3 separate regions of the Homo sapiens genome follow, and regions 1 and 3 are each linked to region 2. The links are contacts of gene promoters, found by promoter capture Hi-C in human tissues and cell types (Jung and others, 2019). All regions are on one chromosome and are shown on one strand. Each heading gives the region's core, a stretch centred on a gene start or on the middle of the fragment in contact. The rest is flanking DNA. Distances are from core to core; before and after follow the strand shown.

Region 1 (4,682 bases), core at 1,510-4,009, 380 kb after region 2:
TTTAATTACTTTTCTTTTTTTTTAAATTTATTTATTTATTTTTTTTTTTTGGAGACAGTCTTGCTTTGTCACCCAGGCTGGAGTGCAGTGGCAAAATCTCGGCTCACTGCAATGGCTACCTCCCAGATTCAAGCAATTCTCCTACCTCAGCCTCCCCAGTAGCTGGGACTATAGGCACACACCACCATGCCCGGCTAATTGTTGTATTTTTAGTAGAGACGGGGGTTTCACTGTGTTGGCCAGGCTGGTCTTGAACTCCTGACCTCAGGTGATCCACCTGCCTTGGCCTCCCAAATTGCTAGGATTACAGGCATGAGCCACCATGCCCAACCTTTTCATTTCCTTTCATTCTTCTCCACCTCTGCAATTTTTTATTTGGGGACATTTTCCTTCTCTCTAGAAAACTTTCTTTAGAATACTCTGTCCTGTTAGAGGTAAAACTTCACAATTTTTATTTGCCTAAAAATAACTTCATTCTTAAAAATGGTTTTTTGTGGGAATAGAATTCTAGGTTAGACCTCATGTTCTTTTGTCACATTGGATGCATTAAGCCACTGAAGTGTGATTTCCACTCTGGCTGTTCATCTGCCAGTTTAATGTATTCTTTTTAAAATAGCTTCTTTTAAGATTTTTTTAATCTTCGGTTTATTCCAGTTTCACTGTGTTTTATTTTGGTGTGGATTTTTTATAAGTGATCCTTTTTTGTATACTCTGGGCTTTTAAATTTGTGTATTTATCTTTCATGAGTTTTGGTAAATTCTCAGCCATTGTGTGCTCAGATATTAGCTCTATACCATTCTTTTTTCATTTCCTTCTAGGACTCCAAATAAAGCCTTCTCACTGTATCTCCTGTGCCTCTTAAGTGCTCGTTTCCATCCTTTTGTCCCCTACTCCTTACCCAGGCTTCATTCTGGATCTAATTTACCTTCCAGTTCACTAAGTTTCTCTTTAGCTATGTAATCTGGCTTAAATATACCCATTGAGTGCTCAATTTAAGTTTTTCTGTTTCTCAGTAATAGACTTTTCATTTGCTTCCTTTTTTCTGGAGACGGAGTATCACTCTGTCGCCCAAGGTTGGAGTACAGTGGCAAAATCTGGGCTCACAGCAACCTCTGCCTTCCAGGTTCAAGCAATTCTTACGCCTCCCATGTAACTGGGATTACAGGTGTGCACCACCATGCCTGGCTAATTTTTGTATTTTTAGTAGAGAGGGGTTGTGCTGTGTTGCCAGGCTGGTCTCAAACTCCTGACCTCAAGTGATCTGCCCACCCCAGCTTCCCAAAGCTCTAGGATTACAGGCATGAGCCACAGCACTGGACCTTCTTCCTTTTTCATAGTATGCCAGATTCTCAAATGTAGCTTTATTTTCCTTGAACATAGTAGCATTTTTAGTTTAAAAGCTGTGTCTGATAGCATCTGTGGCAGTGCTTTCTCTGATGTTGACTCTGAGTGTGTCACCTATTCTCTGCATTAGATTTCTTCCATCTGAACACTTGAGTGGTTTCTGATTTTCAGGTTAGAATCTGACTGATAGACTGCTGTCTGCATGCTCTTAATCTGGGCCTTACAATTTTCTACAGAATCCTTTCACAGCCCACAGCCCACAGCCCCTCTTTGTATTTTGTTAACTTTCAGTAAAAGGGAACTTGGTTCAAGAACTGTAAAAGTTGTTGTCTGAACCCAAAATTCTAAAGGGAATCCAAACTGGGAAAGAAAAAATCCTCGCCTCAAGTTCCTAGCCTTAGTAAAAAGTATATATATATATATATATGTGTGTATGTATATATATATGTGTATGTATATATATGTATGTATATATATATGTGTGTGTGTGTGTGTATATATATATGGATATAGCACACTGCCATGCTTTCCATTTTGTTTCAGTTGGTCTCTTATCCAGCAAGTTCATTTTCTTTCCACAAAACAATATCTGGGATACAAGAGGTTAGCTATTTGCTAATAGTTAAGACGTTTTGGGGTCATTTCAATTCAGTATTTTTAATGTTTCATTCAGAAGTCATTTGAATAACTAAGAAGTTATTTCTTAGACCCTGTCCTCAGAATACACCATTGCAACAAAAAACAAAAAAACCTCAGCACAAATCATGGAGTTCCTAGGTTCCAGCGTCCTTCTTTTTCTGGACGCTTTTTTCCTCTAAAAACAAAGATTGACTCAAGCATGTAACAACAGAAATACTGTGATAGCAATACTATGCTAACATTTTTATTTATTCCTGTGATCTTAACACCTTCCTCCCCAACCCCAACACACACACACACACACACACACACACACACAAATTGTTTTAGCTACTTCTATTTTTTTTTTGAGGCAGATTCTCGCTCTGTCGCCCAGGCTAGATAGAGTGCAGTGGCGGGATCTTGGCTCACTGCAACCTCCACCTCCAGGGTTCAAGCGATTCTCCTGCCTTAGCCTCCTGAGTAGCTGGGATTACAGGCGCCCACCACATGCCCGGCTCATTTTTGTATTTTTAGTAGAGATGGGGTTTCACTGTGTTGGCCAGGCTTGTCTCGAACTCCTGACCTTATGATCCACCTGCCTCAGCCTCCCAAAGTGCTGGGATTACAGGCCTGAGCCACCATGCCCAGCCATTTTAGCTGCTTCTATGGGAAGAGTTACGTTTCCCAGTTTGATTCTCATCTCTACCCACACCTAGAATCCTGCAAGTTATCTAGTTTATCTTGTCTGGAAACTGGCTGATTGACATCCAGTGGGGCTTTGAGGGGCATCTTCAAAGCCTTCCCCATCCCCAGCTCCTCAACTCCCTCTGAAGCTGACTGCCCCTTTTCACGGCCAGTGCATTTAGGAGAAGCCAGGGATCTGCCCCTGAACATAACTAGGCCTTGGCTAAGACCACTGTCCACTGTGCCCAAGCAGTCAGGCACATGGGACAGTGGACAAACACCATGGCTAGAACATCTTCATGGAACACGCCCTCATGATGCAATGGCCTTGTGGCACTTACTGTGGAGGCCTCCACCTGGGGATCCTCAGCTCGCCTCTCTGGCCTTCCTGACATTCTTTCTTTAGGCAGTCCCACAACTAGTATGTTAGGTGGGCTGGGGGCTGGTGGAAAGGGACCACAAGCATATACCCATTGTAAGGTTAGTTCTTCATTAATTAACCAGGGATTCAAAATCTTACCAGAAGCAAAATGGTGGGTGGGGCAGAGAAAAAACAAATTCAGCACATCACTGTGAAGCTGTCCTTGGCGCTGGGAGTTCTTAAGGGGGTAGGAGGCAAGCAGATCTGGAACACTTATTTCCTGTCAGGACACAACCATTTTATTTTTTATTTATTGTAACTTTTAGGTTCAGGAGTACATGTGCAGGTTTGTTATGTAGGTAAACTGTGTCACAGGGATTTGGTGTTCAAATTGTTTCATCACCCAGGTAATAAGCATAGTACCCAATAGGAATTTTTTCTGATACTCTTCCTCCTCCTGCCCTTCACCCTCAAGTAGGCCTCAGTGTCTGTTTTTCCCCTCTTTGTATCCATGTGTTCTCATTGTTTAGCTCCCACTTGTAAGTGAAAACATGCGGTATTTGGTTTTTCCGTTGCAGCATTAGTTCTCTTAGGATAATGGCCTCCAGCTCCACTCATGTTGCTGCAAAGGATGTGATCTCCTTTTTTATGGCTGCATAGTATTCCATGAACACAACCATTTTAAACTAAGGGATTAGGTGACTGTTATGAAAGAAACTAAGTAATTTGTGCTTTAAGGAATTCATACAAACAGGCTGTCATGGTTCCTGAACCAGCCTCAGTATCACCAGGGCAGCATGTGAGAGGAAGTTGAGGCAGTATCTTGGCACTGTTTTTAGCCACTGCTCTATACCAGGCCTTTATATGAGTGCTTTTGCTTCTAAACATACGCTTTTGGTTTTTAACAAAAGGAACCTGACTGTATATACATGATATTGGCACATTTGCATTTAGACAGTAGCTCACCTTTCTGTAAAAGTCCACATACATCTTTCTGCATTCTTTCTAAGGGTTTCCTAGTACACTCATTGTATAGTTATACCATACTTTACTTAACCCCCTCATGATAAATGTTTTGGTGGTTTCCAGTTTTTGTTAGTATCAACAGTGTTGCAGTAAAATACATTTTTCTCTCCTGTATGTTATCCTACAAATACATTTCTAAAGGCAGAATTGCTGAGTTAAGATTTGCTTTTAAATTTTTGCTACATACTGGAAAATTGCTCTCCAAAAATATTGTAACAATTTATACTTTTGACAATAGTGTATGAAACTTTGTTTCTCCACACCTTCACAAACACTAGGTATTATCAACATTTTTCACCTTTTACCAAACTGATGGTTAACAAATGCTCTTTTTAAAAAAATTTTATTTTGAAACAATCTAAACTTGCCAAAGAAGTATAGTATAAAACTTTTTCCTTCCTGAACCATTTGAGAATAAGCTTCTGATATGATGCCCCATCACCTCAGAATACTTTTGAGTGTGTATTTCCTACAAGAACCTCCTACATCATCAGCATACAACCATGAAAATTAGGGACTCAACATCAATTCATTACTACTACCTAATGCTCAGACCCCGTGCAAGTTTCTTTCATTGTCCTAATGTCCTTTAGAGCAAAGATTTCAGTTTAGAATTGTGCATTGTGAGTGTTGCATCTTTTTAGTC
Region 2 (4,354 bases), core at 1,694-4,193:
CTGAAGCAGGAGAATCACTTGAACCCGGGAGGTGAAGGCTGCAGTGAGCCGAGATCATGCTACTGCACTTCAGCCTGGGCAATAGAGTGAGACTCCGTCTCAAAAAATTAAAAAAAAAAAAGGCCACTCTGTAAAAGAAATTGTTACTTGTGATGAGGTAATGTAGGTATGTCTAGCTGTACCACTCAGAGCTGAGAAACCCTAGACACATTACTCTAAAATTGGGGTAACGAAAATAATACCTAAATGAAGTTATAGCAGGAATCAGGAGAAGGTCTGAAAACATGAGTTATAAAACAAAAAAAGCTCTGTGCAGACCACACAGAGGCTACCCCCTCCTCCTCCTGGTCCCACTGCTTCAAACCCATCCAGGCCTTCACTAAGTAGTGCTATTTGTGCTGGCTGCCTTGCAAACAAATCTCCTTTACCTATGTCCAAAGAAGAGTCAAAATGAGAAGTAGGGGCAAGGTATTTGTCAAACTAGAATCAGACTCCAAGAAAGTCACATCAGAAAAGTCAAACAACAGACATCCAAATGGTGGTGGCGTTGTTAGTATACACCAGGGGAAGGGACAGTAAATAACTAAGTCAATTATTACTGAAGCTCTGTGGCCCTCTGTATGGTACTTAAAGCCTCTCTGACTTTGTTTCCCAATCTATAAAATGGGAATGGAAAACATATCAAACTCAGTGTTGTCTGGGTTTTAACGAGACAGTCCATGAAAAGTGCCTAGTACAGTGCCTGGTATACATATAAATGTCCAGTGAATATTAACTATCAATCCTGGACAAATTAAAGTCCAAAGACACTCACAGACTTAATCAAGATTTGACAATGCAACTTGCAGAGCCAGGTCTTCTGACTGAAAAGCTCCTGCTTTCTAGTCAGTGCATAAGAATGACACAGAGCCAACCAAAGTCCTTGAAGACAGAACCAAGCCATATCGTGGTAGGTGGGGAACCCACTGGGAGGCAAGTGCAGAGCATTTGGGTCTGACACTGACACTAGCAGTTATCTCTGTGTTCCTGCTTCTGAGCCTTTTCTTGTCCTTTGAAGCCCCCAGTTCTTTCCATCTCTAGGTGTCTCCGTCAAGGACAGACTTAAGACTCACCCGAAAGAAAACGAGACTTCTGGTAAAGCCCTAGAGACCTGATCTGGCATCACCGGCTTTGCTCTATTTGCTTTGAGGAAGCCATCCTTCCCTGGTCGTCTTCACTGCATCTGCTCTGTGTACAGAATCCTTCTCATTCTAATCCACCTTGGTGGCAGTAAGTGCTTAGATAAGCAAACTTGGCTCACCAATACCATGAGGTTCTTTGGTGGGTGAAGAGATGTTTCCTTTTCCCAGGTCCCCTTACTTCCTCTCCATCCCCCCACTAAACTCCCATCTTCTCTCTGTACTTCTCTCACCTTGTACTCCTGCACCACCTCCTCCAATGGCACCACGCTGTGCTGTTTGTGGCTCCTGGATTCTCGGCACACCACACAGATGGCCTCTTCGTCTACCTCGCAGAAGAGCTTCAGGGCTTCTTGGTGTTTGGGACAGATGCCCTGATCGGTCACGCGGCTCCCTCGACCAGGGGTTGGGTGCATCTGCCGAATCACCTGGACCATATTGGCCAGCTGCAGGTTGGGGCGGAAGCTCCGCCGAGGAAAGCTCTTTCGGCACTGAGGGCATGTGAAGCACCTCCGAGGGGCTGGAGGCGGGGGCAGTGGGGTGACGGGGTCTAGATCCTCTTCCTCAACCTCCTCCAGCACTTCCTCCTCGTCCTCCTCATCCTCCCCCCTCAGGTCCTCCTCCTCCATGTCCCCCAAGTAGTAGTCCAGGTCTTCCTCCTCGTCCTCCTCCTCCCACACATAGTCCATGTTGTCCCAGCTGGACCTGCTCATGCCACTGGTCCAGAACACACCCTCTTCTTCCTCCTCGACCTCCTCCTCCATGTCACCCTCGTAGTCTTCATCCCGCATGGGGGTGTCCCACCCCGCGCCAGCCCCCACAGCCTCCACTTCCTCCTCCTCTCCGTCCTCCTCCTCCTCCTCCCGATCTAACTCATCTCTGTCCTCCTCATCCTCCCCACCCCACAACTGGGTTACACAAACTCGGCAGAAGTTGTGCCCGCAGCCGATGGACACGGGGTCCGTGAAGTAATCGAGGCAGATGGCGCACACCGCCTCCTCCTGAAGGGTCTGCACAGGGTTGGGTGTCATGGCAACGGCAGCCATCTTAGTGTCCAGCCAGCCAGTGTAGAGGTTCGGTGGGGGGGCGAGGGGCGGGGGTCTTCCCTACCGACGCCCTGGCGACCCGGCTCCACCCCCAGCCCTGCCCCTCCACACCTCGCCCCAAGAGCAGCCAGAGAGATGTCCTGCCGACAACCCACCCCAACACAGTGTTCCCTACTCCCAAACGACAACCGTGTCTCTACGAGGGGAGGGGACAGTGCTGGGCGCCACCGCCAAGTCCCTCAGGTGGCTCTGAGTACAAGTCTGCCCCAATGCTCCCTTGGACTCCTCATAAACCCCCGCCCCTCCTCACTTCCTGGCCCCGCCCCTAGCTTCCGGCCTCCTTCCCAACACTTCCGGCGTCTACACACCACCTAAGCTCGCGACTTCCCTCCGCTGTCCTGCTACTCCCCCTTTTTCCCCGCGGGGCCCCAGGGCGACAGGAAATGGCGAGGAGACGCTCTAGTCCGCACTAGAGAACAGGGCGGGAGGGCTAGGACGGTGGAGGCCCGCGTCTCTGTGGTAAGAGGCCGCGGGGAACGCAGAAAGAACAGAGGAACCGCCTACCCCCATCCCCCGCCGCTGGGGAGAAACTTCGGGGGGTAGGGGGAGCGCCTGGCGGCCGTCTGCTTTCGGTGCTATCACCGCATCGGCCAGACGCCATCCTACCCTCCCGGCACAGCCGACTGCAGCCGGTACTCCCCACAGCCGATGCCGGAAGCGAGGGGGTGGGTCCGCGGCGCGCCCTGAAGTACTTCCGGCCCTTCTAGGCAGACGACTTCGTTGTGGAGGACTCAGAGGGTCGTCCGGGTCGGACCGGGGGCGGGGCCTGAGAAAGCGCTTCGCGGGTTAGGGCAGCAGACGCCCCACCCTTCCCCAACTGTAGTCGGCGTTTCGCATCCGAGGTAGAAACTGCCAACCGGACACTGTCTCATGGTTTAGATGAACTTCCCTAACTGCCCAGCAGTGAAGAAGTGGTGACGAATCATTACATCTACATTCTCACAGCATCTCTGCAAAAATAGATGCTTTGTGCGGTAGAAATAATACTTGATGCTTAAATAGCTCTTTAAATTTTATTTTTATAGAGATTTGATGTCGATACATAAATAAATAAATGTTGTTTGATGCGAGAAAAATGACGGGGCCATGATTTATGTACAGAATCTCCAGTGAGTGCCAGACACAGCGTGACGCCAGGGCTGGGCCTGCAGAACTTACCCTGCTCTCAAGGCGGCTCGCGGGAAAACTCCAGATGGACGTCGCGCTTCCTAGGGGGGTGGTCAGGCCTCTGAGTATGTCAGATCAAACGCGCCAAAAACCACGAACCCTCGTGGGTGAACTATGCTAGGCCATTACAGGACCTGCGGACTCGGCTGCGGTGGACAAGTCCGGCTCCAGAACCTGGACACCGCTCAGCCGGCCGCGGCAGGGGTCCCCGGGCCTGTCCTACAAGGGCGCTTGCCTAGAGCTATCCCGGCCGTCTCAGCCGTGTGTGTCTTCAGGACGATGCCGGCAGGAAAGTAGCCAAGGTGGTTTCCGTAGTGTAGTGGTTATCACGTTCGCCTCACACGCGAAAGGTCCCCGGTTCGAAACCGGGCGGAAACACGTTTTGGTCTGTTCGGGAGATTCTCTCCCGAGGCCGGCCTTACGTGGCAGGAAGGACATGTGTGTCCCTGCGCTTCGGAGGAACACGGACTGGGGCAAAACTGAAGGAGAGCACTACTCAAGTAAATTCAGGTCTCGCCCCTCACCTAATCTCTTGCTCTTCCCTTCTGAAGCCTATGCAGCCATCACATGTACAGGAATCCGTAGATTTCAGATCCTCGGCTCTAGTGCCTAGAACAGAGCCAGGCGCAGGCGCTTCTTAGTATTTGCACAGTGGAAACGTGCTTACACCTCTGAGGGTAACCTCCATCTTCAGAGACAAAGTTAGAATACAGACATGGCCGCCCGGCTAGCTCAGTCGGTAGAGCATGAGACTCTTAATCTCAGGGTCGTGGGTTCGAGCCCCACGTTGGGCGTAATTTCGCTTTTTGGAAAGGTTAAGGCAAGTTGTGTTACCTAAGTGCACAAATGGTATTCTCTGTACCAAGACCTAGTGGGTAGCAGATTCACCAACAGTGGGTGTTA
Region 3 (4,708 bases), core at 1,630-4,129, 470 kb after region 2:
AAACAAAACAAACTCCAGCAATTTAGAATATTTTTCGGTGTTGCAGATCCCCATCCCCCGACCCAGGACTTCACTCTGATAAACAATCCAGAGAAACCTCTGCACAGAGGCACAAGAGCCCTGCATAAATATGTTCATGGGCGCAGTGTTTGAAGTGCTTTGTTCTTTAAAAATGATGATTAAATAGTGGTATGTTCATGCCATGAAATTATATGTAGCAATTACAATGAATGAACTCCTCAAACCGTTCCCCTCAGTGCAGAGCCATCTGCAGAAGCCAGTGGTGGCCACTTTTGCTTATAGCTCATTTCTTTGCTATCTGCTATCTCATTTCTTGCATTGCCATCTACTTTTAGTAGAGTATGTGGGTTTTGCACTCAGAACAAAGGAATTTTGTTTTAATTATGGCTCGTCCACTCTGTTAATTTTTTGGTCATGGACAACTAATTAAATTTTTCTGTGGTTCTTAAAATATCCATAAGACTATCTGTTATCTATAAGAGATGAAAAGAAGTTGTGAAATCTGCTCAAGTTTCATCCCGGATATGGGAAAGGACAACTGCCATTGGTTTTAGAAGGACAGTGATAGAGAAAAATAAATTTGCCTTGATGATTGCAATATATGATCCATTTAATCAATGCCCTTGTTACCAGTATATTTTCAATCCAAGAGTTACAAAAAGTATAAAGGGTAATACAATATTGTTTTTCTAGTTAAAATCTTATTATGGAGGTTGAGGAAGAGTGGTCTATTGCTATTCAAAAGTGATTGTTGCAAAACAATGGGAATATACTTAACACTACCGAACTATATGCTTAAAAAGGACTAAGATAATAAATTTTATGGTACATATATTTTTACCACAATTAAAAATTAGAAACTCAGGCTGGGCATGGTGGCTCATGCCTGAGGATCATGCAGGAGGATCACTTGATCTCAGTAGTTGAGGCTGAGGCAGGAGAATGGCGGGAACCCGGGAGGCAGAGGTTGCAGTGAGCCAAGATTGCACCAATGCACTCCAGCCTGGGCAACAGAGCAAGACTCCATCTCAAAAAAAAAAAAAAAAAAAGAGAGAGAGAGATTTGAAGGGCTACTATGTGGAAGATGGAATTTAACTTTACTTGTGATTCCAAAGGTAAGAATAAACATGGACACATTGAAGCCTGTGAGAGACTGAATTTGGCTAAGTGTAAGGAAGAATGTACAAAGGTGAGGAAGTTGACCAGGGGACAGTGATCTCCCTTTCCCCAAGGCTTTCAACAGGAGCTGAGTGGCCATGCTTGGGTGCTGGTGCAGAGAAGTTCTGTGAATCAGGAAAGGACTTCAAAAGTTGCTTCCAAATCAAATATCCTATCCTGGATTGTCCAACCTTTCCCCCCTGCCCTCTTCTGAAGAACCCAGGGACGCACATCCCAATGCCTACAGGACAGGGGCGTAATGTGCAAATAGGGGCTGGCTTGGTGAAAAAAATGCATGTTCCTTCTAGGGGAGGGTCTACTGCTCAGTTCCCACTGATTTATTTATTTACTTATTTTTTCAAGACAAGGTCTTGCTGTGTCACCCAGGCTTGAGTGCTGTGATGCAATGATGGCTTATTGCAGCCACAACCTTCCAGGCTCAAGTGATCCTACCACCTCAGTCTCTCAAGTAGCTGGGACCAGAGGCATGTGCCACCACCCCTGGCTAATTTTTTATTTGAGACAGAGTCTCCCTATGTTGCCTAGTCTGGTCTTGACCTCCTGGGCTCAAGCCATCCTTGCATCTCAGCCTCCCAAAGTGCTAGGATTACAGGCATGAGCCGCCACGCCTGCCCTCATCCCACCACTGATTTTATTTGAAAGAATGTTGACATATATTTTGAACTTTCCGAAAAGATAAAAATTTAGATTTTCATGTGAATCCTACTGATGTTAACCTATCAGCAAAATTTTTGTAAAAAATCAACCACTATGTTGCCCAAATACCTTAACAGGTGGCAACCAATTTGTGAGCTCTGTATACCTAGTCAGATTATTTCTCTTTCCTGGTTCTTCTTCAGCTTTACAGAGCAGTGACATCATCTGTAGAAGATGGTAATCTTTTTTAGGTTTTAGAAGTGTATGGTTAGCCTCTTTGTTTTTATTAAAATATTTTATTTTATTTTCCTTGGAATTACAGCAATCAATATGTGCACACAAAACTCATACACAAATATTTCATAACAGCATTATTCATATGAAATAGGCAAAAGGTGTAAACAAACCAAATGATCATCAACAGATGAATGGATGAGAAAATGTGGCATATTCACACAAAGGAACATTAGCCATAAAAAAGGATGATAAATGATCCATGCTACTACATTGATGAAGCTTCATTATTAAGGGAAACCAGCTGGACACAAAAGACCACATGTTGTAAGAGTCCGTATATGAAATGTCTAGAAAGGCAAGTCTATCAAGACAAAAAATATATTTCTGCTTGCCTGGAGTTGAGGGTGAGAATGAGGAGTGATTGCAAACTGGCATGAATTATTTTGGGGGGTAATGGAAATATTCTAAAATAATGGATGCACAAATCTATGAATATATTAAAAGCTATTGAGTTGTACATATTAAGTGTGTGAATTGTATGATATGTGAATTATACCTCAATAAATCTCTTAAAATAAATATATGCTAATTACAACAAATGAAACCCTGTTGTTGTATGAAGAAAAAGTTATCAGTCTTCCCACCTCCTTCCCATATTCAACACCCCTCAACCAATAAGCAGCATTACCATAATCAGTTTGAGGTGAACCTTTCCATCCTTTTCTTTATGCTTGTATAACCACACATATGCACCTATGTTTGTGTTCCAGTAACACTAACTAGCATTGAGTGAATGTCTACCATATGCCAAGCACTTTATATACACTGTGTCATTAATCTGCAAAAGAGAACCACAGGATAAGCCATAATAATATCATCTTACTGAAGGGAAACTAAGGTGCAAGCATATCAAGAAAGCTCTTCAAGGTCACAAAGCTAGTAATGGCACAGCTATTTCTTCTATATTATATTATGACCCCTTAAGTGGATACAAATCATCTTAAATGTTTCTTGTTTTATTTCCTGTGGTATGTAGAACAGCACTCATTGCTCAGTAGATAATTTTTGAATGAATTGATAAATAAATGCATTTTCCTTTTAAATTTATTGTGAATAAAAAACAGAGTATAAAGAAATAAATGTTAATACATGAAGTATACTATGTTTGAAAGCAATGTAAAGCATCAAACTTGTCTTCAAGGAAATTAATACTGAATTGAGTCAATGAGACACATAATGGGGATATATGGGCATTATATGAGGAGCTCAGGGAAGGGAGAGATTTGAGGTGGTGAATATGGTAAGCTCCAAGAGAGATGAGTCATTTAGTCTGAGTGGTGAAGGACTGGTAGGATTTGGGTGAAAGCAGAAGTGTGCAGAATCCCAGGATGCAGAGTCATATGCACCAAGGGAAGAGTTGGGTTCTGAGGACACTGAATAGATTCATTTGATTTAGGCAGAGCATGGGGAATAGAGAGAATTGAGGACTCAAGGCAAATCTTGGTTTTTCAGTCAGTTGATTTTGATTGCCACATTGGGGCCCGGAGGTCTCCAAGGTCATACTTGGTAAACAATTTTCCCCTGACTCCTCTTAAGGAGGCCTTGGCAATGCTCCTGAGGCAGGATTGCTGCTGAGCCTAAGGGTCAGGAGGTGGTTTGGTAAGACACCAGTTCCTCCACGGCTGAGTTGGTTAGGGTGAGTGAGCGAAGGTGCCTGGGGGAGGAGGCTCCTGCCTGGCGGGCAATGGGCCTTGGGCAGTTTTGCCCTGCCCAGGGAGGGAGCCTATGTAACCATCGCTTCTCCAGGACAGGAGCCCTGGGTAAGTACTGACTGGATGGGCCACTCTGACTTCATAGTTAAAAATCCAGAACCTCCTCCTTCACTCAGACAGAGGATGAAATTTTCTGGCTTGAATGTGGCTCTATTATAGTCAGACAATATCATTAAATTAGTAGACTGGCATGAAGAATATGAAGAATATAGTACTACATGCTGTTGAAAATAATTTAAACATGATTTCTGATTTCAATAAGTGTGTTATTTTTAGAAGTCATGCATAGAAATATTTCATTGGGCAATTAGTGGGGGATTCCTTTGTGTAGCATCCCCAGTTTGAGTACATAGAGCTATTAAATTCATGCAAGAACATATTTTATCACTGATAGAGTCTTTCTCTGCCACTTACTCACCCATCCATTCACTCAACTGAATACAGCATGTCAAACAATTTCTTTTTTTTCTCTCCAACTGCATAAACTTAGGGAAATAAGTTTATTTATGTAAAGTGTGAAGCTTAAAATCATTTTGAAGTTTCTTCTAAATCTCAAATTCCATGATGCCAGGGCTCTAGTATGCAAAGTAAATTATAGGCCTCAGTGCCAAGAGACAAAGAATAGAGCAATGGTCAGAGCTGTTGAAGATAAATCCCGGAAGACTTCTTGAAGAACTAGATGACAGAAGGGAATCTATCCTATTTGGAGACAATGTTCTGTGTGGGAATCAGAGTTAAAACAAGCTACTTGTTAATTCAGTCTTTGTTAATTAAGCTTACTGAACTCAAACCGGAGTTTTCTGGTCTTATACTGCGAAATGTGGGTTATTATTAAGTATTTTATAGAAGCGTCTTAAAGATCA

The links. The method cuts DNA at HindIII sites, captures the fragments that hold promoters and counts their contacts. A contact is called where the count stands out against the background at its distance.
Region 1: a contact is called between a fragment that was not itself captured here and the fragment with the promoter of TRIM41 in region 2, in 2 of the 25 tissues and cell types used here (dorsolateral prefrontal cortex and lymphoblastoid cells).
Region 3: a contact is called between a fragment that was not itself captured here and the fragment with the promoter of TRIM41 in region 2, in 1 of the 25 tissues and cell types used here (lymphoblastoid cells).

What each region holds. Positions count from the first base shown.
Region 1 is chr5:180,838,410-180,843,091 of GRCh38, reverse strand. It overlaps a transcript of ZFP62 not described here. Among named protein-coding and RNA genes, the nearest start is that of HEIH, 9.1 kb to the right of the region's middle. The HindIII fragment of the contact is 7,340 bases long and covers 1-4,682 here.
Region 2 is chr5:181,221,870-181,226,223 of GRCh38, reverse strand. TRIM41 (tripartite motif containing 41) reads right to left here and starts at 2,943. Exons shown (of 6, transcript NM_033549.5): 1 at 1,412-2,943. The coding sequence starts at 2,224. TRK-CTT2-3 (tRNA-Lys (anticodon CTT) 2-3) reads left to right here and starts at 4,173; the gene lies at 4,173-4,245. TRV-CAC1-5 (tRNA-Val (anticodon CAC) 1-5) reads left to right here and starts at 3,757; the gene lies at 3,757-3,829. MIR4638 (microRNA 4638) reads left to right here and starts at 3,591; the gene lies at 3,591-3,658. RefSeq lists enhancers at 1,050-2,047, 2,715-2,944 and silencers at 2,195-2,404, 3,675-3,904, 4,155-4,354. The HindIII fragment of the contact is 24,392 bases long and covers 1-4,354 here.
Region 3 is chr5:180,747,931-180,752,638 of GRCh38, reverse strand. No RefSeq gene overlaps it. Among named protein-coding and RNA genes, the nearest start is that of OR2Y1, 10 kb to the right of the region's middle. The HindIII fragment of the contact is 4,608 bases long and covers 576-4,708 here.